Linked DNA regions of Homo sapiens: all the other regions are linked to region 3. Evidence: promoter capture Hi-C in 16 types of primary human blood cells and fetal thymus (Javierre and others, 2016). All regions are on one chromosome and are shown on one strand. Each heading gives the region's core, a stretch centred on a gene start or on the middle of the fragment in contact. The rest is flanking DNA. Distances are from core to core; before and after follow the strand shown.

Evidence for each region. The method cuts DNA at HindIII sites, captures the fragments that hold promoters and counts their contacts. A CHiCAGO score of 5 or more calls a contact.
Region 1: a contact is called between a fragment that was not itself captured here and the fragment with the promoter of AR in region 3, in 2 of 17 cell types (M2 macrophages and monocytes). The highest score is 5.5, in M2 macrophages.
Region 2: a contact is called between a fragment that was not itself captured here and the fragment with the promoter of AR in region 3, in 1 of 17 cell types (M2 macrophages). The highest score is 7.1, in M2 macrophages.
Region 4: a contact is called between a fragment that was not itself captured here and the fragment with the promoter of AR in region 3, in 1 of 17 cell types (M2 macrophages). The highest score is 5.0, in M2 macrophages.
Region 5: a contact is called between a fragment that was not itself captured here and the fragment with the promoter of AR in region 3, in 1 of 17 cell types (M1 macrophages). The highest score is 5.8, in M1 macrophages.
Region 6: a fragment that was not itself captured here is called in contact with the fragment with the promoter of AR in region 3 in 1 of 17 cell types (M0 macrophages); the score reaches 5.1 in M0 macrophages.
Region 7: a contact is called between a fragment that was not itself captured here and the fragment with the promoter of AR in region 3, in 1 of 17 cell types (M1 macrophages). The highest score is 5.2, in M1 macrophages.

The regions. Positions count from the first base shown.
Region 1 is chrX:68,132,470-68,136,176 of GRCh38, forward strand. All of the region lies in intron 15 of OPHN1 (oligophrenin 1), which reads right to left. It also overlaps the pseudogene AKIRIN1P2. Among named protein-coding and RNA genes, the nearest start is that of OPHN1, 300 kb to the right of the region's middle. The HindIII fragment of the contact is 1,827 bases long and covers 974-2,800 here.
Region 2 is chrX:68,154,131-68,157,880 of GRCh38, forward strand. All of the region lies in intron 15 of OPHN1 (oligophrenin 1), which reads right to left. Among named protein-coding and RNA genes, the nearest start is that of OPHN1, 280 kb to the right of the region's middle. The HindIII fragment of the contact is 5,387 bases long and covers 1-3,750 here.
Region 3 is chrX:67,541,604-67,545,270 of GRCh38, forward strand. AR (androgen receptor) reads left to right here and starts at 2,418. Exons shown (of 8, transcript NM_000044.6): 1 at 2,418-3,667. The coding sequence starts at 3,544. The HindIII fragment of the contact is 7,103 bases long and covers 70-3,667 here.
Region 4 is chrX:68,093,456-68,097,201 of GRCh38, forward strand. OPHN1 (oligophrenin 1) reads right to left here. Exons shown (of 25, transcript NM_002547.3): 19 at 3,415-3,574. Among named protein-coding and RNA genes, the nearest start is that of NXTAR, 310 kb to the left of the region's middle. The HindIII fragment of the contact is 319 bases long and covers 2,007-2,325 here.
Region 5 is chrX:68,176,214-68,180,125 of GRCh38, forward strand. The region is part of intron 15 of OPHN1 (oligophrenin 1); the gene reads right to left. Among named protein-coding and RNA genes, the nearest start is that of OPHN1, 260 kb to the right of the region's middle. The HindIII fragment of the contact is 1,419 bases long and covers 1,417-2,835 here.
Region 6 is chrX:68,071,973-68,075,614 of GRCh38, forward strand. OPHN1 (oligophrenin 1) reads right to left here. Exons shown (of 25, transcript NM_002547.3): 20 at 1,180-1,327. Among named protein-coding and RNA genes, the nearest start is that of NXTAR, 290 kb to the left of the region's middle. The HindIII fragment of the contact is 3,627 bases long and covers 1-3,488 here.
Region 7 is chrX:68,111,985-68,116,075 of GRCh38, forward strand. It overlaps OPHN1 (oligophrenin 1), which reads right to left. Exons shown (of 25, transcript NM_002547.3): 17 at 1,197-1,255. Among named protein-coding and RNA genes, the nearest start is that of OPHN1, 320 kb to the right of the region's middle. The HindIII fragment of the contact is 2,371 bases long and covers 1,393-3,763 here.

The sequences.
Region 1 (3,707 bases), core at 637-3,136, 590 kb after region 3:
ATTCTCACTCATAGGTGGGAATTGAACAATGAGATCACATGGACACAGGAAGGGGAATATCACACTCTGGGGACTGTGGTGGGGTCGGGGGAGGGGGGAGGGATAGCATTGGGAGATATACCTAATGCTAGATGACACGTTAGTGGGTGCAGCGCACCAGCATGGCACATGTATACATATGTAACTAACCTGCACAATGTGCACATGTACCCTAAAACTTAAAGTATAATTAAAAAAAAATAATAATAAAATGTTGAGATACTAAGTGTCAAAAAAAAAAAAAAAAGAAAAAAAGAAAAAGAAACAATAGGGCTTGGCTGGCGAGCCCCACTGAGGAGCCGGAGCTTGGGCCGCACTTACCCGAGTCCGCTCCCGGTCCCTGGCCCGTCAGCGACCTGGCGAACCAGGCGACGCTGAAGCGGCCCATGGACTTCGGTACAAAGCTGCTGAGTCCCTGCTTCCCCGAAGCAGCCGTGCTGCACCCCTCTGCCCAGCCCCACTCCGGGCCTCAGGCCCCCGGACGCCAAGCCGCCGCCGCTTCAGACGCAGACCCTACCGCCAACTCTGCAGCAGTCCGCCCCACTCGGCAGCAAGCGGCGCCTTACAATTCCGGAGAAAATTTTTCAGAACATAAAACTAGAATACAGTCGTTATCAGAGGTGGAGACATTTAGAAATTGTTCTTAATCAGAGTGAAGCTTGTGCTTCAGAAAGTCAACCTCACTCCTCAGCACTCATAGCACCTAGCTCTCCAGGTTCCTCATGGATGAAGAAGGACCAGCCCACATTTACCCTCTGACAAATCGGAATAATACGTGAGTGTGTCTTAGACTATGAAGACAAGATTCAGGAGGAGTATGAGCAAATCCTCAATACCAAACTAGCAGAACAATATGAATGAATCTTTTGTGAAATTCACACATGATCAGATTATGCAACGGTATGGGACAAGGCCAACAAGCCATGTGTCCTGAAGCTTTGTTATGTATCTGGGTACCAGGTTTAACCTCAAGAGATGCCTGCTGTACACTTTTTGCAACTGGTTTGACAACACATTTCAGCTTCAATTTTGCATCCTGAGAACACTTAAACGTTTCTGTAGGTCCATTTTATACAACTTGAAAGACCTTAAAACTTTTTGGTTGCCACAAGCATATCTCCCTTTTTCTGCTCATCCAGTAAACAGCTGTGCCCTACTGTGATAGATTTTCCAAAACAAAATACTTGGAGAAGCAGTTTAGCAAAATATGCCTTCAGTGGCACTCAACAAATGGAGCTTCCCCAAGCACAGTTCTGTAAGAAGTGTGTATGAGAGCGTGTGTATGTATATTTCAAGTTATTATTTGTATAGTGCAATTTTTTTTTGATCTTGGGGATTCTGGCTGAGCTTGATTCATGACAATTATGGTTAAAAACATTTGCTTGGCCGGGCGCTGTGGCTCACGCTTGTAATCCCAGCACTTTGAGAGGCGGACGTGCTTGGATCACCTGAGGTCAGAAGTTTGAGACCAGCCTAGCCAATATGGTGAAATCCCGTCTCTACTAAAAATACAAAAATTGGCTGGGCATGGTGGCAGGCACCTGTAGTTCCAGCTACTCAGGAGGCTGAGGCAGGAGAATCACTTGAACCAGGGAGGCAGAGGTTGCAGTGAGCCAAGATCGCGCCATTGTACTCCAGCCTGGGTGACAGAGTGAGACTCTGTCTCAAAGAATAAATAAATAAATAAAAACAAAAAACAAAAAAAAAATTGCTTGTTCTACAGAAGATCATTTACGTTTTGTGACCATATAAGTTGCAACAGTGGATTGTTTTTATGTGTAGGTTTTATTGTTAAATACAGGGACTGTTTCCAGGCATAGAATATGAATCATAAGTTAGGATGGACATTAGCTGTGATTATGATAATACAGCAAAGGTCTGTGGTCCTAGATCTACAAATGTGTGGTGAGAAATATCTACAAATGTGTGGTGAGAAATTAGAACAAACTGGAGATGGGCCATTGACACATGGACTCTGCCTAAGCGTGTTAGAAAAATACTTTGACTCCAAGCCTTAAAATACTCACATGGAGTCGGCGCTCACCTCATTCACACAATCATAGAGCTCCCTGGACACTGAACCTCTAAAGGGAAAAGGTCTGCCCTGGAGCAGAAGGATCATGGTTTGCTTGGGAGCATAGCAGGTAAGCTCAGAGCTGGGCCTGGGCCTGGGCCAGGGCCAGGCCCTGGCAGCACTGCTACTTGGGAAGAGCCACTTCACCTTTGTATCAGTTATTAAAAATAGAATTTGGATCCTTTGGTGAGGTTCTCCCAAATTCATTTGAGGTGTCCATGGTCAACTGCTTGAGCTGTTTTGGCAACCGCCTGCCCGAAGTCACATTTAGGCTGTTCTTCACCTTGTTTCCAAGACTGAGGAAAAGAAAGTAGCCTCTGTTTTGAGCAGGTAGAAGTATACATTTATTTTTTTACTGCAACTTGCTCAGGACCATATTTTACAAAATGCCTTGTTTCCTTTATTGTTTCTGGAAAGGAAAAGTTCTATTTATATTCTTTTAGTTTGAATATAGAATAGTTTTTTTAATCAGGACTTATTTTGAAAAAATCTGAGTTTAATTCAAATGCATGCCAATACCTTACAAAGTAAGGTAATACTCAGAGACAGTTGTTCTGATCAGATGGCTTAGAGAAATTTCTGGAATATTCACGTTCGAAGATTCCTTATTAATGAATATCTTTGACTTAAATCTAACCGAAAACTGCAACATTATTCTTTGCACATTTTCATTATATAGTGTTAACAAGCTTAGTTGCAAACAAATAAAAATACTTAAGCTATTTGTTTACCTTGCCTTCTTAAAAAAATAAACAATAAGGAAGCCAGTGAAAGTAAAGTGGAATAAAGAAGGGAGAGTATTAAAAATGATGAGACCAAGAGAGAGAATAGGGTATTGGACAGGGGAGCGGGAGCTATTATATAGGCCTTTTGGGTTATTGGAAGGACCTTTGCTTTTACTTTGAATGAAATGAGAAACCACTGGTGAGTTTTAAACAGAGGAATGGTCTGCTCTGACTTGGCCTGAATACAGAAGAACAGTCTAGCTGCTGTGTAGACAACAGTAAGAGCGTAACTGGGACAGCAGAGAAAAGAGACATATAAAAGGTCTATTTCAATAACATGGAACAAAAATGGCTGTGGCTTAAATTTTAGTAAAACTGGTGGAGATGACTAGAAGTGGTCAGATTATGTATATAATTTGAAATAAGACCCTACAGAATTTGTTGGTAGATTAGCTGTCAAAAATCATACATGACAAAAGTTTTTAGTCTGAGAGAGTAGAAGAAACTGAAATGGAGAAGCTTATGGATGGAGTATGCTTGGAGAGAAAGATCAATAGTTCATTTTGGACATGAACTATTTGGAAATGTCTTTGGAACTGTCTAATAGATGGTTTGAAAATGTCTAATAGAAATTCAGTGAAGGTGCCAAATAAGAAATTACATACATAAGTCTGAAGGTCAAGGGAAAGATCTGAGCTGGAAAAATAAATCTGAGAGTCATTCCTTCCTTAAGCAAATATGTATTGAGTGTCATCCCTAAGTTACGTGTTGTGCTGGAATCTGTGCTGTCCAATAGGGCCACTACTGGCTACATATGGTAATTCAAATTTTAATCAAATTAAATATTATTAAATATAAAGTTATTAAAT
Region 2 (3,750 bases), core at 994-3,493, 610 kb after region 3:
ACCATATGCCAAACATTGCACTAAGTGCTTTCTGTGAATTATTTCAGATGTTCCTCACTATAACTCTATGACATGGGCACTATTATTTTCCCCTTTCACCTGTGGAGAAAGAGAGGCTCAGACAGGAGAGCCAACTAGACTAGCAGCATAACTAGCAGATGGCAGGGACAAGGTTTTAAGGCAAGTATCTAGATTCCAGAGCCCCTTTCACCTATTCAGGCATGGTGTTGCCACCAAAACAACACAGCAGAATCCAAATAAATATATCACCTAAGGACAGCTCATAATTTGTGAGGACTGATAAGCAAATATGTTAATAAATTCTGCCAGCTAAAATTATATCGATTCTTCCTCATCTCTCTTGGAATAATTCTCTCATATTTAATGTTTGACACAGAATGCAAATACCGGGATCATAAATGTGAAGCATACCTTTTTAGATAGTGCATTTTATAACTGGTCTACTATGATTCTTATTTTGAAGTCACAGTTCTTAGTCCTTTCTTTACAAATAGAATATAAATTCCCACAACTTTTCAGATTGCTGGAAAAGGTTAGAAGCCATAGCAATTTAGAAATGGTCAGGTCAATACGTCTATGTATTTCATATTTTCTGTGAAAGGTCAGAGGTTACAGGTATTTAAAATTGTAATACTGTTATCCCTATGGTTTTATGGATTTATAAGAAGGACCAAAGCATAAAAGAACATTAGCAGAACAATAGTACACACCACACACACACACACACACACACACACACACACATAAACGGAGTAGCAGAGATTTTTTTTAAGTCTATTAAAGGTGAAGTCTATGCTGACCAAGTTAAGTAGTGTAGAAATCGGGAGTAGAGCCAGGTGACAAAAAGCATGCTAGAGGGTGCAAAGCACAGTTTTTATTAGACAAGCAAGATCAAGTAGAGAGGCAAAAATCAGTTTCAAGTGAAACTGCAAAATTCTACCCATCCCAAGAAAAGCAAATATAATGACCAAGTTAAGGAAGAATCAGAATGAATTTTAAAACTGTTCTGAAGTTGTGTATTAGAGAACATAAAGGCACAGATCACTACATAAATCAGTGGTTCTCTCATCTACAGTTTTGGCACACAAAAAAAGGAAAATGAAAAATTTACGTCAGTTGCTCTCAGACTTCAGTGGACATGATAGTAACCTGTATACTCAAGCTACCTGATATGATTAGCCTTTGTGTCCCCACCCAAATCTCATCTTGAATTGTAATCCCCATACTCCCCACATGTCTAGAGACAGACCTGGTGGGAGGTGATTGGATCAGGGGGCAGTTTCCCCCATGCTGCTCTCCTGCCACCATGTGAAGAAGGTCCTTGCTTCCCCTTTGCCTTCCGCCATGACTGTGAATTTCCTGAGGCCACCCTAGCCATGTGGATCTGTGAGTCAATTAAACCTTTTTCTTTACAAATTACCCAGTCTCGGGTAGTATCTTTACAGCAGTGTAAAAACAGACTAATACACTACCTCTTCAGAAATTTTGATTCTCAGATCCCAGGATATTTAACAAACATTCCAGATGATTAAGACACAGATTGCCCACCACCACATGTTGGACATACTCTGCCCTGTGTAGGCTGTGCTTCTGATATCTTACTAGAAAACCCAACCTGATAAGCAGCTTACAAAATGTGAAGACTGGGATAATGTAGAGAAAGAGTTCTTGTTTCTCTACAATAGGTTTCAAAGTAATGGTAAAACAGTTGTAATAACAGAGGTTATGGTATGGCAAGTACCAAATCTATTTTTTAAAGAAAAATACAAAGAATAAGAAGAAATTTCAACTGATAAGATAAAGCCATCTGAGTACCATACAGCAATTGAGTGTCCTTATATGTCTAAAATAGCAATGGCATGCCAAATACAGAGAAAATGTGTCAGCATCATCAATAACTACAAATTTCAGTTCAAAATATAACCATGGTATCAGGGAGGCCAGGATATTCATATATAATTAGGGGAAAGATATGCATTTCCCTACTTTATCAGAAATTTCTTAAAGAAAGATTAATAACATCCTTGCCTAAAGCATTGTTTCTTAAAGAAAAAAATCTTTTGGCAACCTAAATCAGAATCACTTGGATTGCTTGTTTAAAATGCAGATTATCATCTTAGTTCTGATGAATCAGAATCTCTGAAGGAAGAGGTAAAAAAAAAAAAACACATCTCAGATTCTGGGTAATTTGAAAAAAAAAAGATAAAAAAAGAAAAAAGATAAAATAAATATAAAAATATAAGACATGCATACACACACAAACATACTGAAATATGAAATTCAGAGGCTTTTAGTATATTCACAAATTGTACAACTATAACCATAACTAATTATAGAACATTTTCATCATGCAGAAAGAAAGCCCAAACCCTTCAGCAGTGAGTCCCCATTTCCCCTATTCCCCACCAGCCTGGGCAACCACTAATCGACTTTCTTTCTCTGTAGATTGGCCTATTATGGAAATTTCATATAAATGCACTCAAACAACATTTGATCTCCTATCACTGCCTTCTTCCATTTAGTATAATGTTTTCAAGGTTCATTCATGTTGTTATGCATCAGTACTTCATGCCATTTTATTGCAAAAACAATATGACTTGAAAAAATTTACAAAATGTATCACATATGAAAGAAGAAATGAAGAGACAACTAGATGCTTATTTCCAAAATCAAGCAAAATTAAGGATGTAATTTCATTTGTAGACAAATCCCGATAATTGAACTCTTGTTTATTGACAGCAAGTATAACCAAAGGGAGTTTCTATAAAGACCCAAGATGCTTACAGTGCACATAGTATGTAGTAAAAATGATGACAATACCAGCAATGCTAGAAGTAACTCCATGAATAGGAATAAAAGGTAAAAATTATGCCTTGAAAAGATGCCATGGTAAGGCGGACGACTTTTTGGAGTTGTGCTGTAAAGTAACCATATGCACACTTGGCCTAATTTAATCTGAATTTATATTAAATAAAATTTAAAATATATTTCCTCAGTTGCACTAGCTATCTTTCAAATCCTCAGTGACCACATGTAACTAGCATCTACCACATTGGATAACTCAGACAGAGAACATTTCCATCATAATAGAAAGTTGTATTGGACAGTGCTCCTCTGGGGATAGATAAAATTGCCATACTGTAACTCATTTATTCACTCTAAAAATATTTATTAAAAGTATACCATCCAATAGTATGTTGGATAAAGAAACTGTAGTACATATACACCATGGAATACTATGCAGCCATAAAAAGAACAAAATCATGTCCTTTGCAGCAACATGGATGCAGCTGGAGGCCATAATTTTAAGCGAACTAATGCGGGAACAGAAAACCAAACACCACATGTTCTCATTTATAAGTGGAAGCAAAACATTGAGCACACCTGGACATAAACATGGGCCCAATAGACACTGAAGACTATTAGACGGGGGAAGAAAGAGGAGGGCGTGGGTTGAAAAACTAGCTACAGATACTATGCTCACTACCTGGGTGTAACATATGCATGTAACAAACCTGCCCACGCACCCCCTGTATCTAAAATAAAACTGGAAATTTAAATAAATAACAAAATAAAATAAAATAAAAAGTCTACTTTGTGCATGGCACTGATCTACATACTAGGCATACCACAAAACACAAAACAGACAAAATTCATACCCCTATGGAGCTTAAGTACTAACGATGGCAAAGAAAGGATAAACAAATAATTAAAATATATGACAAAATA
Region 3 (3,667 bases), core at 1,168-3,667:
ATCCTGGCTTTCCAGAGCAAAGAGCTAGGGAAGACTTTATTAATAAATCCCTCTTGAAGTTGCAGAGGAAGCTTATAGCAGAAACTTACTCTCAACCTGACTAATCTGAGAGAACACCTCTGGTTCCATTTGATTACTAAAAAACTGCAAAGAACAGGAGGAGAAAGAAGAAGAAAGCTGGTACAAACAGTGAACTTATATAATATTAATCAATAATTGTCTCTTGTTCTTAAAAGCAATGGGAAGAAAATGAGATTTGAGCTGGAAGATCAGAGTTCAAAATCCAAATAAAGTATATGGCCCTAATATGCTTATAGTAGTTAACCTTTCCTGATAATGATATAATTGTTGACAGCACCATCTTTAAAAATAAAAATAACATAGTAATCCTTCAGATTTGTAGAATGCTTTCCTGTTTACAAGTTTGTTCTATACACATTATGTCTTTTAAATGACACACTAGCCTTCTGAGGGTAACTTATATTGGCAACAGTTTTCAGATGTGGAAACTGTGAAGACAATGTTGGTGATGTGGAAGCAACATAAACTTTGGAGTCTTTCAGACCCAGGTTTGAATGTCAGACTGCTTTTTATTCAGAGTAACTTCAGAGCATTATTTCTCACCTTAATTTTTTTTCAGGCCTCTTTGTGTCTATGTGTCCTCTTCACTCCTGTCCATTGTTCATTCAGTGATTTTTGCACCTTCCTTCACTGTTAGTGTGTAGACACATAGTTCTCCTGGCTCTGAGACCTATGTTAATTCCATTCTACCATCCTGCCAGCCCACTCAATTCCTATTGAGCAATGCTAGTTGAAAGTTGTGGTGGGATTAAATGTTGCAATGAGTATTCAAATGAGGTTGAAGTATCTACGCATTCTACTTACATATGGTGAGGTATATTCAAGGAAGGCTGTAGCCATTAAAATCTCAGGAAATAATTTTTCACCTCCTCAGGTGAAAGGGTCTTCAGGCCTTTGTGTTCTGGAAGGTTCATTTATAGCCATTTCCCAAATGACAATGCGATTGATGAGTCTAGAGTCTAGCTCAAATAGCAATGGACTGGAAGACTAGTTTAGGTTTTACTAATGTGGAACATAGAACAAATTATGTCCTTGTTTCAGCCTGTTCATCTGTGAAATAGAGCCTATCATATCCAGTCTTCCTTGCCTTTAGGTTTGAGTTACCTTCTTTGGTCAAGGTAAGTAAATGCCTATGATGTTTGGCTGTGCACAAGATAAAGCTACAACAAAGCTACAACCCATCTTTTCTCTGTAGAAGACTGCAAAAAGCAAAAGAGACCCAGGCAAAAATCTCGGAATGACTTTTGGAACAGAGAGCCTCCCCAGAATCAGAAGTCAAAGGAATTTAAAACATAGGGAGGCCCAGGGTCTCTACTGACATAAAGGAAAGATGTTTTCCTTATAGGTTTACGTTTACATTTTCTCTCTCTTTCCATTCCCACTTGCATCTCCACCTTTACACAGGGCTTATGGGACCTCCTCCACAAAAGAGCAGTTGCAGTAACCCACATCATCCTCTACGCCTGGCTGTCCATCAAGAGGCGAAAAGCAGCCCTATATAGGTTCTATCCTTGGATAGTTCCAGTTGTAAAGTTTAAAATATGCGAAGGCAACTTGGAAAAGCAAGCGGCTGCATACAAAGCAAACGTTTACAGAGCTCTGGACAAAATTGAGCGCCTATGTGTACATGGCAAGTGTTTTTAGTGTTTGTGTGTTTACCTGCTTGTCTGGGTGATTTTGCCTTTGAGAGTCTGGATGAGAAATGCATGGTTAAAGGCAATTCCAGACAGGAAGAAAGGCAGAGAAGAGGGTAGAAATGACCTCTGATTCTTGGGGCTGAGGGTTCCTAGAGCAAATGGCACAATGCCACGAGGCCCGATCTATCCCTATGACGGAATCTAAGGTTTCAGCAAGTATCTGCTGGCTTGGTCATGGCTTGCTCCTCAGTTTGTAGGAGACTCTCCCACTCTCCCATCTGCGCGCTCTTATCAGTCCTGAAAAGAACCCCTGGCAGCCAGGAGCAGGTATTCCTATCGTCCTTTTCCTCCCTCCCTCGCCTCCACCCTGTTGGTTTTTTAGATTGGGCTTTGGAACCAAATTTGGTGAGTGCTGGCCTCCAGGAAATCTGGAGCCCTGGCGCCTAAACCTTGGTTTAGGAAAGCAGGAGCTATTCAGGAAGCAGGGGTCCTCCAGGGCTAGAGCTAGCCTCTCCTGCCCTCGCCCACGCTGCGCCAGCACTTGTTTCTCCAAAGCCACTAGGCAGGCGTTAGCGCGCGGTGAGGGGAGGGGAGAAAAGGAAAGGGGAGGGGAGGGAAAAGGAGGTGGGAAGGCAAGGAGGCCGGCCCGGTGGGGGCGGGACCCGACTCGCAAACTGTTGCATTTGCTCTCCACCTCCCAGCGCCCCCTCCGAGATCCCGGGGAGCCAGCTTGCTGGGAGAGCGGGACGGTCCGGAGCAAGCCCAGAGGCAGAGGAGGCGACAGAGGGAAAAAGGGCCGAGCTAGCCGCTCCAGTGCTGTACAGGAGCCGAAGGGACGCACCACGCCAGCCCCAGCCCGGCTCCAGCGACAGCCAACGCCTCTTGCAGCGCGGCGGCTTCGAAGCCGCCGCCCGGAGCTGCCCTTTCCTCTTCGGTGAAGTTTTTAAAAGCTGCTAAAGACTCGGAGGAAGCAAGGAAAGTGCCTGGTAGGACTGACGGCTGCCTTTGTCCTCCTCCTCTCCACCCCGCCTCCCCCCACCCTGCCTTCCCCCCCTCCCCCGTCTTCTCTCCCGCAGCTGCCTCAGTCGGCTACTCTCAGCCAACCCCCCTCACCACCCTTCTCCCCACCCGCCCCCCCGCCCCCGTCGGCCCAGCGCTGCCAGCCCGAGTTTGCAGAGAGGTAACTCCCTTTGGCTGCGAGCGGGCGAGCTAGCTGCACATTGCAAAGAAGGCTCTTAGGAGCCAGGCGACTGGGGAGCGGCTTCAGCACTGCAGCCACGACCCGCCTGGTTAGGCTGCACGCGGAGAGAACCCTCTGTTTTCCCCCACTCTCTCTCCACCTCCTCCTGCCTTCCCCACCCCGAGTGCGGAGCCAGAGATCAAAAGATGAAAAGGCAGTCAGGTCTTCAGTAGCCAAAAAACAAAACAAACAAAAACAAAAAAGCCGAAATAAAAGAAAAAGATAATAACTCAGTTCTTATTTGCACCTACTTCAGTGGACACTGAATTTGGAAGGTGGAGGATTTTGTTTTTTTCTTTTAAGATCTGGGCATCTTTTGAATCTACCCTTCAAGTATTAAGAGACAGACTGTGAGCCTAGCAGGGCAGATCTTGTCCACCGTGTGTCTTCTTCTGCACGAGACTTTGAGGCTGTCAGAGCGCTTTTTGCGTGGTTGCTCCCGCAAGTTTCCTTCTCTGGAGCTTCCCGCAGGTGGGCAGCTAGCTGCAGCGACTACCGCATCATCACAGCCTGTTGAACTCTTCTGAGCAAGAGAAGGGGAGGCGGGGTAAGGGAAGTAGGTGGAAGATTCAGCCAAGCTCAAGGATGGAAGTGCAGTTAGGGCTGGGAAGGGTCTACCCTCGGCCGCCGTCCAAGACCTACCGAGGAGCTTTCCAGAATCTGTTCCAGAGCGTGCGCGAAGTGATCCAGAACCCGGGCCCCAGGCACC
Region 4 (3,746 bases), core at 916-3,415, 550 kb after region 3:
GATCCGATAGAAGTGCATGTTTAGTTTTTAAGGAACTCCAAAACTGTTTTCCAGAGCAGCCGCCCCATTTTATATTCCTACCAGAAATGTGTGAGAGATCCAGTTTTTGTGTACCCTTGTCAGCAGTTGGTATTGCCACTATATATTTTTTTAACGTTACCTATTCTAATAGGTGTGTAGAGATCTCTCATCATGGTCTTAATTTGTATTTCCCTAATGGCTAGTGATCTTGAACATCTTTTCATATACTTAATTGCCACGCATACGTCATGTTCATGTCTTTTGCCCACTTTCTAATTAGATTGAATTTTTGTGCTGTTGAGCTTTGAGAGTTCTTTGTATAGTCTAGATATTAATCCTTTGTCAGATACGTGGTTTGCAAATATTTTCTCCAAATCTCGGTAGCTTTTTTTTCCATCTTATTAATAGGGTCATTCACAGAGCAAAAATTTTTAATTTTGATGAAGTCAATTTATTGATTTTTTTTCTTTAATGGATTATGCTTTTGGTATCATGTCTCCTCAATAAGTCCTAGGCTCTAACAGTTTTCTATATTATCTTCTACAAGTTTTAGTTTTATGATTTATATGTAAATGTATGATCCTTTGTGAGCTCATTTTTATATAAAATGAGAGGTTTAGGTTGAGGTTCACTTTCATTACCTATAGAGCTGCAATTGCTCCAATACAATTCATTGAAATGACTACCCTCTCTCCCTTGAAATGCTTTTGTACCTTCATGAAAAATAATCAGGCCATACTCTGTAGGGCTATTTGTGGATTCTCTATTCTGTTCTATTTGTTTATGTAAGAAGTAGACAAGAGGACTTATCGGGTTACCTCTGCCAATTGTACACTGTCTTGACTACTGAAGCAATACAGTAAGCATTAATATTATTAATACCTACCTCCAGTTTATTATTTTTCAAAATTGTATTAGCCCTTACAGTTCCTTTCCATTTCTACATATATGTTAGTATTATCTTGTCTTTATCTACAAAAGCTCTTGCTGGGATTTTGATATTGATTACCTTAAACTTATAATTTTTAAAGAATTGACATCTTTATCATGTTGAGTCTTCCACTCCATGAACACAGTATGTATCTCAATTTATCTAGATTTTCTTTGACTTCCTTCATATTCTCCACATTGCAGCCAGAATAAGCCTGTTAAGCCTAAATCAAATCCTGTCACTCCCATGCTCAAAACCCCCCTTCTATCTTACCCAGGCAGAGCAAATCTAAAATTCTTCCAGTGGATTATAAGACTCCACTACAGGATCTAGTCTGTCCCTCTCCATTATCTCTTCGAGCCCATCTTTTTCTATTTCATCTTTTGCTTAATCCACTCTAGCTAGTCTGGCCTCCTTGTTGTACCGTGAATATGACAGGCACACTTCTGCCTCTGGGATTTTGCACTTACCATTTCCTCAGCCTAGAATCCTTTCTCTCTGGATAGGTGAATGAATCATTCCTCTACTCCCTATCGATCTCTGCTGAAAGGTCATCTTCTCTGTGAGGCCCTCCTCATTTCCTTATTTTCTCCTTTCCTATCTGTATTTAAAATTGCAAAACCACTTTCCAACCCTTCCTATTTCCCTTCTCTGCTTTTCTCCTTAATGTTCATTACAATCTAAAATATTATATACTTTACTTACTTTGAATACTATTTGTTTACTTTTTCTAAATATAAACTCTATGAAGATGATATCTAGAGTTCCTGAAACAGTACCTGGCATAAAGTGGGTACTCGACACATATTTGTTGGATGAATCAATTGATTTATCAATTTATCACATCTGGGCTCTAGAACAGGGGTCAGCAAATTACAGCCCACAGGCCTGTTTCCCATTTTGTAAATAGAATTTTACTAGAACACATCTACAACCATCTGTTTCCATATTGTCTATGGCTGTTTTCTCACTACAATGGCAAAGCTAAGTAGTTGTGACAGAAATCCATGGCCTGCAAAGGCTTAAGTATTTATTATACGGTCCTTTAAGGAAAAGCTTTCTGATCCCTGCTTTAGATTCACATAGTCAACTGCTCGCCAGGCATTGCTCCCTGGATGTCTTTCACAAATCTCAAATGCGACCTGTTCCAAACTGAACTTTCCTCTATCTCCCTCAAACTTTCCCATTCTGAATTTCTTATATGTATAAGGACAGCCCCATCCACCCAGTCAGCCAAGTCAGAAAATCAGGATTCAGAAATCTCCCTCTCCCCCATCCTTGGTGACTTCCAGTCACCAAGTCCTGCTGCTTTTGCCTCCCTGTGCTTCTTTATTGAATTATGCTTTTCCCTAGGATGGCACTAGCTGCTATGAAGCTTATACCCCAGTGTGCAGGGCCATCTGTTGCAAGTGTACAAGAATTTGTCAATAAATATTTGTCTTAACCTCATTCTGGGCATCATTTTCTGACTCTACCTTTGTTTTACCTTTTGTACTTGACCTGATTATAATGTATGATGCCTTATATTTTATGTGCAATATAAAATATGCTACCATATATACTTTTGGAATGAGATGGGGTTCGAATAAGTGTAAGCATTGATTTCTTTTTAGTTTTGATGGAGTTCAGGACCTGCTATCCCAAAATATGGCACTTTGGCGTTTGTGGAAACAGCAGAAGCAAGAAGGTTTCTCTACCTTCTCCCCTGGAGCAGGCCATAAAAGAATTCTCTGACCTTCCTCTGAAGTAGGTCATTCCAGAGGTACCCTCCCTATAACTGAAGGAAAAGAACATCCCTATCCTCGAAGACACAGAAACACCAAGAAGAATCTGAACAAACAAGCCTTGCTAAGATCCCCCTAAGTTTATTACCATTAGATCATATCCTTCTGTCTTCTAATCACTAATCTTCACAACGATCCATTTCATCAAACTTAGTATAAAAAATGCAAGAGTTTACCTGCTTCTTTGGGTCTTCATTTCTAAAGGTTCTTGTGTCATGTAAAACTTATTAAATAAATTTGTATGCTTTTCTCTTGTTAATCGGTCTTTTGTTATAGGGATCTCAGCCATGAAACTAGCAATGGGTGAGAACATAAATATCTTCTCCCCTACAGTTTCATTGTATATAGACTACTTTTATACTATCATTTTCCTATTTACCCATCTGTCTCCATACTACACATTGTTAACACCTTAAAGGCACAGACAGTGACTTTTTCTTCTTCATTACCCCCAGTATTTAGCATGGTGTCTGAAAATAATATAGTTATAAGCTTAAGCAATGTTTGCTGAATGAATGAATTTCCCAGGGTCAGAGTTGCCATTAAATGTCATTGTGTCATAATGGGATTTCCTTTCACTGTCAACGTGAGCCAAGGAGGAAGACACAGCACTAAAAGGCAGTTGGGGGAAAGTGTCACATGTTTGGAAGACAGGTAGTGAGAATAGAAAATGCATACCTTGCCAAAGTGCTCGATTAGTATTTCCACCACTATGTTCTGGAATTTGATGTTCATCATGGCGGCCACAGTGTCCTCCTGAGCTCTCATCAGGGTGGGCCCAAAGATTACTCCCATGTTGGAGGGGGTCATAAGATTCTCTTTGCTGTGCTCACACACACTGCCAGAAGAAAAGGGGCAAGATTAACAAAATTTGCTCCAGTATCCCCTTACAACCAAGACTGTTTTAGGTGCTGTAGAGGGTAAGAGAAACTAAAATGTAGAAGGAAAGGAGCACCTAAAGTATGTATTGGAAGGCAAGATTACAAAGGAAACAATCAGCAAAGAATACA
Region 5 (3,912 bases), core at 876-3,375, 630 kb after region 3:
AAATTGGGCTACAACAAAATTAAAGACTTCTGTGCATCAAATGGGAGAAAATATCTGTAAATCGTGTGTGTGTTAGAGATGAGGGGTTAATACTGAAAATATATAAAGACCTCCTAAATCTCAACAAAAAATAAACAAACTGATTCTAAAATGAGCAAAGAATTTGAATAGACATTCCTTAAAAGAAATAAATAGCCCGTGAGCACATGAAAAGATATTCAACATTGTCACATGGAAAATGCAAATCAAAACCACAATGAGATACCACCTCACACCCATTAGAATGGCTACATATCAAAAATAAATAAATAAGGAAAATTCAAAGTGTTGGTGAGGATGTGGAAAAACTGGAACCCTTGTGCACTGTTGGTGGCAATGTGAAATGGTAAAGCCACTATGCAACATAGTATGGTGGTTCCTAAAAAACTAGAAACAGAATTACTATATAACCCAGCAATTCTACTTTCTCGACATATACTTAAACCCATTTATGCTGGCAGTTGCAATTTTTTTGAATTTTTGCAATCAGACCTTGATGATGACCTTGAGTAGTAAGATATAAATAACTCCTACATGCTTAGCATTCCAATAATGGAACACTAGGCATAAATGGGTTAAAGAAGTAAAAGCAGCTTCTTGAAGGGATATTTGTATATCCATGTTTACAGCAGTATTGTTCATAGTGGACAAAAGGTAGAAGCAGCCCAAGTGTCTATCCACAGAAGAATGAATGAACAATACATATTGTTTTTATATATACATATATATATATATATATATGCATACATACATAGACACACACAGTGGAATATTATTCGGCCTTTAAAATGAAGGAAATTCTAAAACATTCTACAACATGGATGAATCTAGAGGATATTACACCAAGTGAAATAAGCCAGTCACGCAAAGACAAATACAGTTTGATTTCATTTATATGAGGCACTTAGAGTAGTCAAACACATAGAGACAGGAAATAGAATGTTGGTTTCCAAGAACTAGGGAGAGAGGAGGATGGAAAGTTGTTAATGTTGTACAGAGTTTCAGTTTCCCAAAATTAAAAGAGCTCTGCATATTTGTTGCAAAATAATGTGAATACAATGAACATTAATGAACAATAAACTTAAAAATAGTTAAGATGGTAAATTTTGTCATGTATATTTTACCACAATTAAAAATAAAAGTAACAAAAATACTCCCTAAATGGGGGCTTGATTAACCCTATATGAAATTTTAAGAATATACAGTCACAGCTAGATAATCTGGTCAGTTGCTGTATTATTCTTGCATTATTATAAAGAAATACCTGAGATTGCATAATTTAATTAAAAAAAAAGAGGTTTAATTGGCTCACGGTTCTGCAGGCTATACAGGAAGCATGGTGCTAACATCTGCTCGGTTTCTGGGGAGGCCTCAGGAAGCTTACATCATGGTAGAAGATGAAGGGGGAGTTGACACTTCATGTGGCCAGAATGGGAGGAAGAGAGAGAGTGGGGAGGTGCTACACACTTTTAACAGCCAGATGTCACAAGAACTGACTCATTATCACTGGAACAGCACCAAGTGGATGAGGCTAAACCATTCACGAGAAATTCACCCCCATGATCTAATCATCTCCTACTAGGCCCCACCTCCAACATTGGAGATTACGATTCAACATGAGATTTGGGCAGGGACACAGATACAAACCATATCAGCTGCTCATAGAATAGACCTATATTTTAAGAGGAATGTTATGCCAATTGACTGGCAGTGTATATGTTATTTTGTATTATCTCAATTAGAAAAGTTTGGAGATTTTAACATTAATACTTACATTTGGGAGAATTTTATTGATCTCTGATATATCCATGTCAAAATACCCCATTACACACTATATTAGGTAGGTTTTGTTTTCCTATGGCAGCATTTTTATTCCTTTGCCTAGTCTGTGAACATGGTGAATTGACAGAGACAGACAAATATACATTTAAAAATTTCCTAATCATATCAACCCTTTAATTTATTTTTTAAACTAGCTCTTTGTTGAAGAGTTCAAAATTCAAATTGTGCAAAGGGTTTTATAAGGTGAAATGTATACCTCCCCAAATGTATGGCCAGTTATCAACACTATAAACTGAATTAAACACTTCATTCCAAATGATCTGAAATTCTACCTTTATCATACGCTAAATTGCCACATATATTTGAATCTACTTTTGTGGTTTTTTTGAGACGTAATCTCTCTCTACCACCTGGGCTGAAGTGCAGTGGCGTGACCTTGGATCACTGCAAGCTCCGCCTCCTGGGTTCAAGCAATTCTTGTGCCTCAGCCTCCCTAGTAGCTGAGATTACAGGTGCGCACCACCACATCCAGTTAATTTTTGTATTTTTAATAGAGACAGAGCTTCACCATGTTGATCAGGCTGGTCTCAAACTCCTGACCTCAGGTGATCCACCCACCTCGGCCTCCCAAAGTGCTGGGATTACAGGTGTGAGCCACTGCGCCCAGCCCAGGTCTACTTTTGAATTCACTATACTGTTTTCACTGTCTAAGCATGTACAAATTCCAAATTGTTTTTGTCAATTGCAACTTTCTTATATATCTTACTTCTAGGTATGGTTCTTCTATTTCAAATATTTCCTGACTCTCGGCTCAAGGTGATACATACATATAAACATCAGAAGCAGATTGTTTAGTTCCAAACAAATTAATTTCCAGATATTTTTCATCGTGACTGCATTATATTTATACAGTAAGAAACTGACATATTTACCACACTGGATATCCCAATTCAAAAAGTGGCTCTGTGTTTGTATATATTCAAGCCTTCTCTCTAGTTCCCTTTTAGCATTCCAAGCTTTTCTCCATATAGATGTTACACATTTCCTGCTCAGTTTAGACCTAGGTATTTTATGTTTGGTTAATTTCTTCAAAGGGAATTTTTCTTCCATTTTATTATACAATTTATTGTTGTATATAGGAAAGAAATTTCAATCAACTATCTCACTAAATTCTCCTTCTCAGGAATTTTTTAGGTGAAGCTCTTGATTTTTCTAACAAGTATAGCCTCTCTAACATATGGATATTGCCTCCTCCTTTCCAATTTTTATGATTCTACCTTAGTTCTATGTTTCTTTTATTAGTCCTTACAGAATATTATTCTCTGAGAGAGGCAATAATGTATATCTTTGTCCAGTTCTCTGACACTGCTGAGAATATAAAACATTTATATTATGAAAAAGATTCTCTCCTTGAGCAAACTTGAGTCAGATTCCTCTGAATTCTCTTTCTGATTAGGTCCCAACCTTGGGTCCTGTCTTTGGCCCACATAGTCTGGTTTCAGTAAGAATCCTGCTGAGTCAGTTTAGTGAAAATCTCCTACTCTAGGTATCTGATCACTGTATCCGGCTTTGAGCAAGTATCCTATCAAGTCAGTTTACTCACAATCTCTCCTTACTCCTGATGTTTCCTCTTAGCATTTCTCCATCCACTGCTTCCCACTGTCTTAGTCAATTTTCTGCTGCTATAACAATACCACAGACTGGGTAATTTATGAACCAGTTTATTGGCTCATGATTTTGGAGGCTAAGAAATCCAAGAGCATGACATTGTCATCTGGTGAGGGTCTTTATGTTCATCATCCCATGACAGCTGGGCAAGTTGGTGGTCAAGACAGAGTGAAAATTAGGCCAGACTTATTGTTTTATCAGGAGCCCAGTCTCACAGTAACTAACCCATTCTCATGAAAATACAGCCCTCATGACTTAATCACCTCTTAAAGGCTCCACCTCTTGATAACATTATAGTGGCAGATACGCTTCAGTTTGGGAGGGGATATTCAAGCCATAACACCCATCCTGCTCCTTGGATATAAATTTCCTTGTATTTGGAGTTGAGCTCAATCTCTCTTCCTACTATAAAACCCCAATGCA
Region 6 (3,642 bases), core at 425-2,924, 530 kb after region 3:
GGCAGTAGTAGAAGTTAGCATATAATGTGCAGGTAGAGCTGACAAGAATTGCCAATGGATTCAATATGAAGGAAAAAGGGAAAGTAGTAACCAAGGATGATTCCAAAGTTCTTGACCTTAGCAACTGGATGACTGCTGCTGCCAATTACTTAGATGGAGGAGACCAGAGTAGGAGCAGGTTAAGAAAGAGTCAGGCATCAAGTTATGTTTTGCACAGTGTAAACTGAGATGCCCATGAGTCATCCAAGGAGAACTGTTGAGCAGGAAATTTGATATGACAAAAGAGGCAAGATATCAATCTTAGATAAATTTGGAAATCATCTTTAGCATTTAAATGATATGTAAAACCATGAAATTTAATGAGATCACACAGGAAAAGAACATGATCAGAGAACAGGACTAAGAAAAAAGCTCTGGGACCTTCTAACATGTAAAGTTGGGAAGAGAAGGAAAACCAGGAGAGAAGACTGAGATGGATTATCTGGTGAGATTAAAGGAAAATCTGGTATCCTGAGAGCCAGGTGAATAAAGTGTTTCAAGAAGGAGGAGTTAGTCAACTGTGTCAGATGCTACTCACAAACTGAGTATGATGAGAACAATGTTGTAGCTATTTGGTTTGGCCTCATGGAGATTATTGGCAAACCTGACAAAAATGGTCTTAGTGGAGTAGGAGGGCAGAGGCACATTTAGAATGGGTGTAGTCTCCACACTAGCAATTATTCCACTGAAGGCATTTATTTCTTCACTTATCTATGTCTCCATTTCTTCTGTGAGGGCAAGCAATGTATCTTAATTTCACCTAGCACAGTACCTGGCACATAGTAGTTATCCAATCCGTGTTTGCTATATTTGAATTTAAAATTTCACAACATTCACCTTGCTCACCCATTTCAATATATTGGGGGCATAAATCTAAGAACACCTTGGATCCTGCACTGGCCTTATAGGGATCCTCCACGTGGTAACTTCCTTTACAAGCTCATCACCATCCTATCTGCTGTCAAAGGCTTAATCCCCTCTCTGAGCACAAACTACAAACCCTGGCTGCTTTTAAGCTCAGGAGCCAGGAAAGGTCTACTTTTATAGAGAGAAAAATGGTCATGCCACCGCTTCTGCCCTTCGATATCCTCTTTGTGTCTAATCACCATTCAGAAGCTAAAGGTGAACCTCAGTACTGACCTTCGCTTTCATCCAGGGAAGAAGTATAGAAAACCGTCCTTTCTCGCAGCAAGCGCTTTGAAATCGTGATTGGTTTGTGCCTTCTTGCTGTCACCCGAGGCGGAGGCACTGGCGGTGCAGCGCTTTCCTCAGGTGGACCTAAATAGATCTGTGGAGAAAGAAGGAAGATATCTAGAGAATAATTAGATCAAGTTTTTGTCTTCTGAATGCTACCCACCAGTTGATGCTTGTTGGCCTTATATCTAGAGTTTGTAACGTGAATACTAACATGACTCAAAGAATCAGAGATTTTCTTAATCACTCTAGCTACAGGTAAATGTTTAGGTATCTCCTACTATGCTCAAGGCACAGAACCTGGCACTTCTCAGTTTGGAAGAAAAAATGCCTATAAAAGATGGCATTAGTCCTGGATTTTCCATGTCCTTCCTGGGAGACCTTAGGCAAGTCACCTCACTTCTCTGAGCCTTGGCTTTCTCATCCGTAACATAGGGACAGCATCACCCACTTCACAGAGTGTGGTAAGAAAGAAATTAAAGGAGCTGTCAAGGTGCCTTCTATGGGTGGGGGTAGGACATGGAAGGAGACTAAACACAATTACATGCCCATATGCCTTAAATAGTTCTGAAGGGATACCAAAGAATCTGATTACATTGTTTGTCTCAAGGTAGGACTAATGATTGGCTGGGGAATACAGGGAGAACAACTGTGTTTTCCCTCCTATGTCACTTTGTTCTTTTATAATTTCATGCCATGGTACATTATCTATTCAATAAAAAGTAAAATAAAATTAAAAAGCAACAACACAGTGCCTTGGATGCTATAAGAAGTGCCGAAGGCATGCAGAAGGAGCTGTGATTAGAATTTTTATATAATGTCTCATGTGTACTTAAGGATTTTCCAGTCTCCATGGAGACCAACCTTTTAGCCCAAGTGCATACACTATGGGATGATACACATATGTGATGGAGAAAGGAGACCACTGTCTAGCCAGTGAGACTAACAAAATCAACCCCAGTGATTAGTGTAAAGAGAAATGTCAGAGCCCAATATCCCATCAGGCAAGGGTCAACACAGACTACATGGGCATGGAAATAACATGATTGAGAACACAAGGCAAGCTGTGTAAAAGGTGGACAATGATAAGAAACAATGCATGAACAATCACAAACCGTGAGTATATGCCTCATGATTGTAAGGAAGACAAAATGTAACTTAACAGCAAGCAGATTAATGTTGAGGCCATACGGTTCTAGGTCATATTCCTAATTCCACCATCATTAGTAATAATAGTCTAAAGAGCCACCATTTTGTGAGCTCAAACACTGTAGTAGTTGTTACAAATATTCCTTGCTATTTTTCGAATACATGAGGTCGTTGCACTGACTGTTTCTTCCACCCAGACTGATCTTCCTTCAGATATCCATTCTTCTAGGATTCTAATCAAACATACTCTGCTCAGTAAGCCCTTCCAGGTCAATATATTTAAAACAATGACATGCCTCCCTCTACGCAAGCATTCCTATCTTCCTTCCATTTTAATTTTTTTTCTCTTCAGCATTTCCTATCACTTTCTAACATATAACACGTTTTACTTATTGATTTTGTTTGCTGTCTGTCTCCAAGCTAGATTTTACACAACATAGAAGCATGTCTGTCATGTTCACTGCTCTATCTCCACCACCTAGAAGAGGGACTGGAATTGCTGAGGCAAAAAACAAATACATTTGCAATTCTAATGTAAAAGGCCAAACTGTCACCTGAAAATACTACTACTATTAACAGCTACTAACTACTACTACTAAAATACTACTACAAACAGCTACTATCTTATTCCGGCCAAGATAGGGCACAGAAACTAGTTTTACTCATTTAGCCTGAAACAAGTAAAAACAAAACAAAACTAGGAAAAATACATGCAACAGTAGTTTTAAAGGCATTGGAAATCCAGCAGTGAAGGACAGTGAATGCTGAGAGACTGAAAAAAACAAATGAGGTCAGCCCTATGAGTTTCCCAGCTTAGAGTTTTGCAGGCTGCAGTGCAGGAAGGGGAACCCAAGTGGAACCCAGTAGTATCCCTACGTTGAGAAGACTGAATTGGGAGTATGGGAAAGACAAGGAAGTGAGAATTTGCAAGGCAAAGTGCCAGAGAGATTTTGTACACTAAAATCTTCAAAATATTGCTGAGAAATATTAAGAAAATCTAGATAAACTGAGATATATTTTGTTTGCAGGTATAAAGACTCAATAGTGTTAAGATGTAAATTCTCACAAAATTGATCTACAGACTGAACACAACCCAAATACCAGTAAGCTTGTATGTAGACATTGACAAGCTGATTCAAAAATGTATAAGGACATGCAAAGAACCTAGAATAGCCAAAACAATCTTGAAAAAGAAAAACAAAGTTGGAAAGCTAACACTACCTGATTTCAAGTCTTATTATAAAGCTACAACAATTAAGA
Region 7 (4,091 bases), core at 1,328-3,827, 570 kb after region 3:
TGGTTTGGCTTTCTGGGCAACTGGATTGAGCAAAATTCTCACATATATATGCACAAACACACACACATGCACACATGCACACACACACACACACACACACACACAGAGAGAGATTCGGAGAAAGACACCCAGAGACACACACAGAGAGAGAGATAATCAATGAGATGAAAAGAGACAGAGAGATAAATAGGCACTGAAATACAATAAAAATTAGAGACCCAGAAACAAAGACAAAGACATAAAGAAAGAAAAAAGGCAGAAAAAGAGAAAAAAAACACACACAAAGAAACAGGTCTAAAAAGATGTAGAAAATAGAAGATAGAAAAGAGAAGGATGAGAAGAGAAGACTGTCTCAGAGGGAGTCAGAACTCTGAGCACAGCAGGTTGTTCCTGAAGTCTCACAGATAAACTTCCAGCTGGAAACCTATTCCCATCCACCTTCCTTGTGGTACTGAGAAGTGTGCTGCTGCCTCTGGATTCCTGTTAAAATCACTGAGAGAGCCCAGAAGTAAAGAACAAAGCTCCCTTGTTTCAACAAAGACGCATTATGATGTTAAGTCCCCTGAATCTTTTTCCTCTACACCACACAGGATATGATGCAGAATAAGGGTCACATTGAGGTGGAGAGGGGCACTCATACAGTGGCCTCAGCCAAAACTTTCAATGCTTCTTTAATCGCCAACTTTTGGGAGTGATTCTCTATGCCTTATTTCCTATGTACTGACGCCCTCTCCCTCAGTTTTCTCATCTAGAAAATGTGATGCTGGCACTAACAGATTAAGGACAATGGTTCACAACACAGTCGAAAAGCATTTGAACAGGCAAAATGCTGAAGGAAGTTGAAACGGCAACTGTCGTGTAACCATTTTTCTGTCCCCTGGTAATGTGAGCCAATGTTCTTGTTCTGATGGAAGAGGCAATGAATACATATATAAATAAAGCCTTTATATTCACACAACCCTCAAGTTAACCAATTTTCTCAAGCCCACTTAAGTAACACTAATTATGAAAAATAATAGAACTCTTGAGTTAGACAGCAAGCAAGAATACTTTCATTTGGCAGTTGTGCATAATTTGTGTATGTGTTTTAGGTTTCTGTGCCCTCAATCACTTCCCCTCAAACAATTTTCTAGGCTTATTGCAGTAAACATTAAGAAACTAGGACAACACAGTTAATTAGTAACATAAATACTTACTGGCAGCAGAGACCAGCTCTTTGTGAAGTCTATAGGTCATGACAGGTTCAGAAAGATTCCTGAAATGAATGAAAATTGTCAGTTGCTTTGGGAAGAAAGCAGCTGGGTATTGGATTCTTAGTTCTGGGGACAGCAAGGCTGAAGTTCCTGAGCCCTACAGCTTAGTGGGATTATATACATTTTTCTCTTCACCTGAAGCTTCGTCAGGGAATCCAAGTTGCTAGTAATTCAACAAAAGACCTGCAAAAGCATGGGCTGAGCCCTCTAGCAAGGTCTCCAACTAGCTCCCAGAAGTAAAAAGAGGCACAAACCAGTCCTGCAAAATTCCAGAGGGGACCCATGCTGAATGCTACCATGAATCCCTTACGATTTGATAGATCCTTAGAATTTCCGAAGTGCTTTTGCAATTGTCCTCCCAATAATCCTGTGAGGTGGAGCAGTTATTCAAATCCCCATTTACGGGAGGAGGAAACTCAGGCTCAAATGGGTTTACTCATTTAGTCAAAAAACATTCTCAGTAAACTATCGCAAGGACAAAAAACCAAACACCGCATGTTCTCACTCATAGATGGGAATTGAACAATGAGAACACATGGACACAGGAAGGGGAACATCACACTCTGGGGACTGTTGCGGGGTGGGGGGAGGGGGGAGGGATAGCATTAGGAGATATACCTAATGTTAAATGACGAGTTAATGGGTGCAGCACACCAGCATGGCACAAGTATACATATGTAACTAACCTGCACATTGTGCACATGTACCCTAAAACTTAAAGTATAATAATAATAAAAAAAAAAAGAAAAAAAAAAACATTGGCTGAGCATTTACTTGTACCTGGCATTGTGCCAGGTACTGGGGATCCAGAGATGAATAGAAATAGTCCAAACCTCCAACGAGCTAATAGTTTAGTAGAAAAGAGCACCATACACAAAATTTGCAATGCAGTGGGACAAGTACGATGACAAAATAAAGGTATATGGTAGGTGGCTCAGAGGAAGTAAGTAATCAACTAATAATTATAAGAATAGCAAACTCTGTACTGCTCTAAGTGATTTACATGTATTAACCCATTTAAACCTCATAACAACTCTGTGAGGTAGGTACCATTTCCAGTTCATCGATGAGGAAACTGAGGCCTAGAGAAGTTAAAAACTCATCCAAAATTACACAGCTAATAAGTGGCAGAAGCAGGAAGTCTGTCTCCTGAGTCCATGCTCTTAATTACTATACTATACTGCCTGCCACTGTTGTTACTGTAGTAATCCAAGCAAAAGATAATAAAAGACAAACAGAGGGGCTAGTCATGGTGGCTGACATCTGTAATCCCAGCACTTTGGGAGGCCAAGGCAGGAGGATCACTTAAGCCCAAGAGTTCGAGACCAGTCTGGACAACTGAATGAGACCCCTACCTCTTAAAAATAACTTAAAAACAGTAGCTGGGCATGGTGGTGCGTGCCTGTAGTCCAGACTACTCAAGGGGCTGAGATGGGAGGACTGCTTCAGCCTGAGAGAGAGAAGGGTGTGGCGGGAGGGCAAGCCTGCAATGAGTCATGATCACAACACTGCACTCCAGCCTGGGTGACAAAGCATAGAAAGAATAGGTGAGGAGACTGTTTTGAAAAATATTAAAGAAAGAACTCCTTCTTTGATTGGGTATGATGGCAAGGGAGCAGTTTGGTTTGGGTGAGTGAATAGAATAAGAGTTGATTAAGAGGGAAGTAGAGATGCTAAGTCAGGGAGGCCTCAGGAAGGTGATATCTACTAAGAAGCTGGATGCAGGGCTCTGCTAGATCAGAGAAGCAGATGTGAAAATCAGGAACCTAGAGAACAGATGACGAAACCACAAGAACAGATGCCACTTCTCCAGGGGAGCTGGCAAACTGGCAGTCAAACAGCTACATGAGGTCTTCCGATATTTCTTCTTTGTCCAGCACAGTGTATAAAAGTGAAATGGAATTGAATCAATGATCAAAATATTTTAAAATGAGATATTTCATATACAAACCCATATCCCCTGTCCCTGTTGAAAAATGCAAAGATCTGGCTCTATTGGTTCTTTGTAGAAGTAAACAACACTGCTGTTTGTATGTAAACAAAGGGCTTGTCATACAAATAAAGGTTCAATGTGCAAAGTGTTTAATATGAAAATAGTCTACTTCATTCAGTTTTATTTCCTGGTCCCTGTAGATATTTCAGTTTTCAGTTGTTCTACTATAGTAAAATGAGCAGAGAGCCCAGGAAAATACCAAATAGAAAGCCCATAAAGGAGATTGACTAAAATGACCAAAGAGGTTAGAGAAAAACAAAAAGCAAGTGATTCAGCAGAATCCAAAACAGAAGAAAGTATCAAAGAAGGCTTGTTAACAACTTCAAATGTTACAAAAAGGTCAAGTAAGGTAAAGACTGACAACTGTGCTTTGTGTGCAGCATTGAGGGTATCCCTGGTGACCCTGGCAAAAGCAGCTTCATTGGAGCAGAGGGGGTAAGAGTTAGATTACAATGAGTTAAGAAGGAACTGGGGAGTTAAGAAGTACAGACCAGGAGTGTATATTACTTGACACAGAAGCTTGGCTGATGTTGACAAAAAGAGTGAAACTGTGTACAATATTTTAAGAGATTTATTCTGAGCCAACTATGAGTGACCATGGCCTGTGACACAGCCCTCAGGAGGTCCTGAGAACTTGTGCCCAAGGTGGTCAGGGTACAGCTTGGTTTTACATATTTTTAGGGAGGCATGAGACATCAATCAAATACATTTAAGAAATACATTGGTTTGGTTCAGAAAGGCAGGACAACTCAAAGTGGGGGCTTCCAGGCTATAGGTAAATTTAAACATTTTCTGGTTGACAATTGGTTGAGTTTATCTGACGACCGGGATCAATGGAAAGGAAT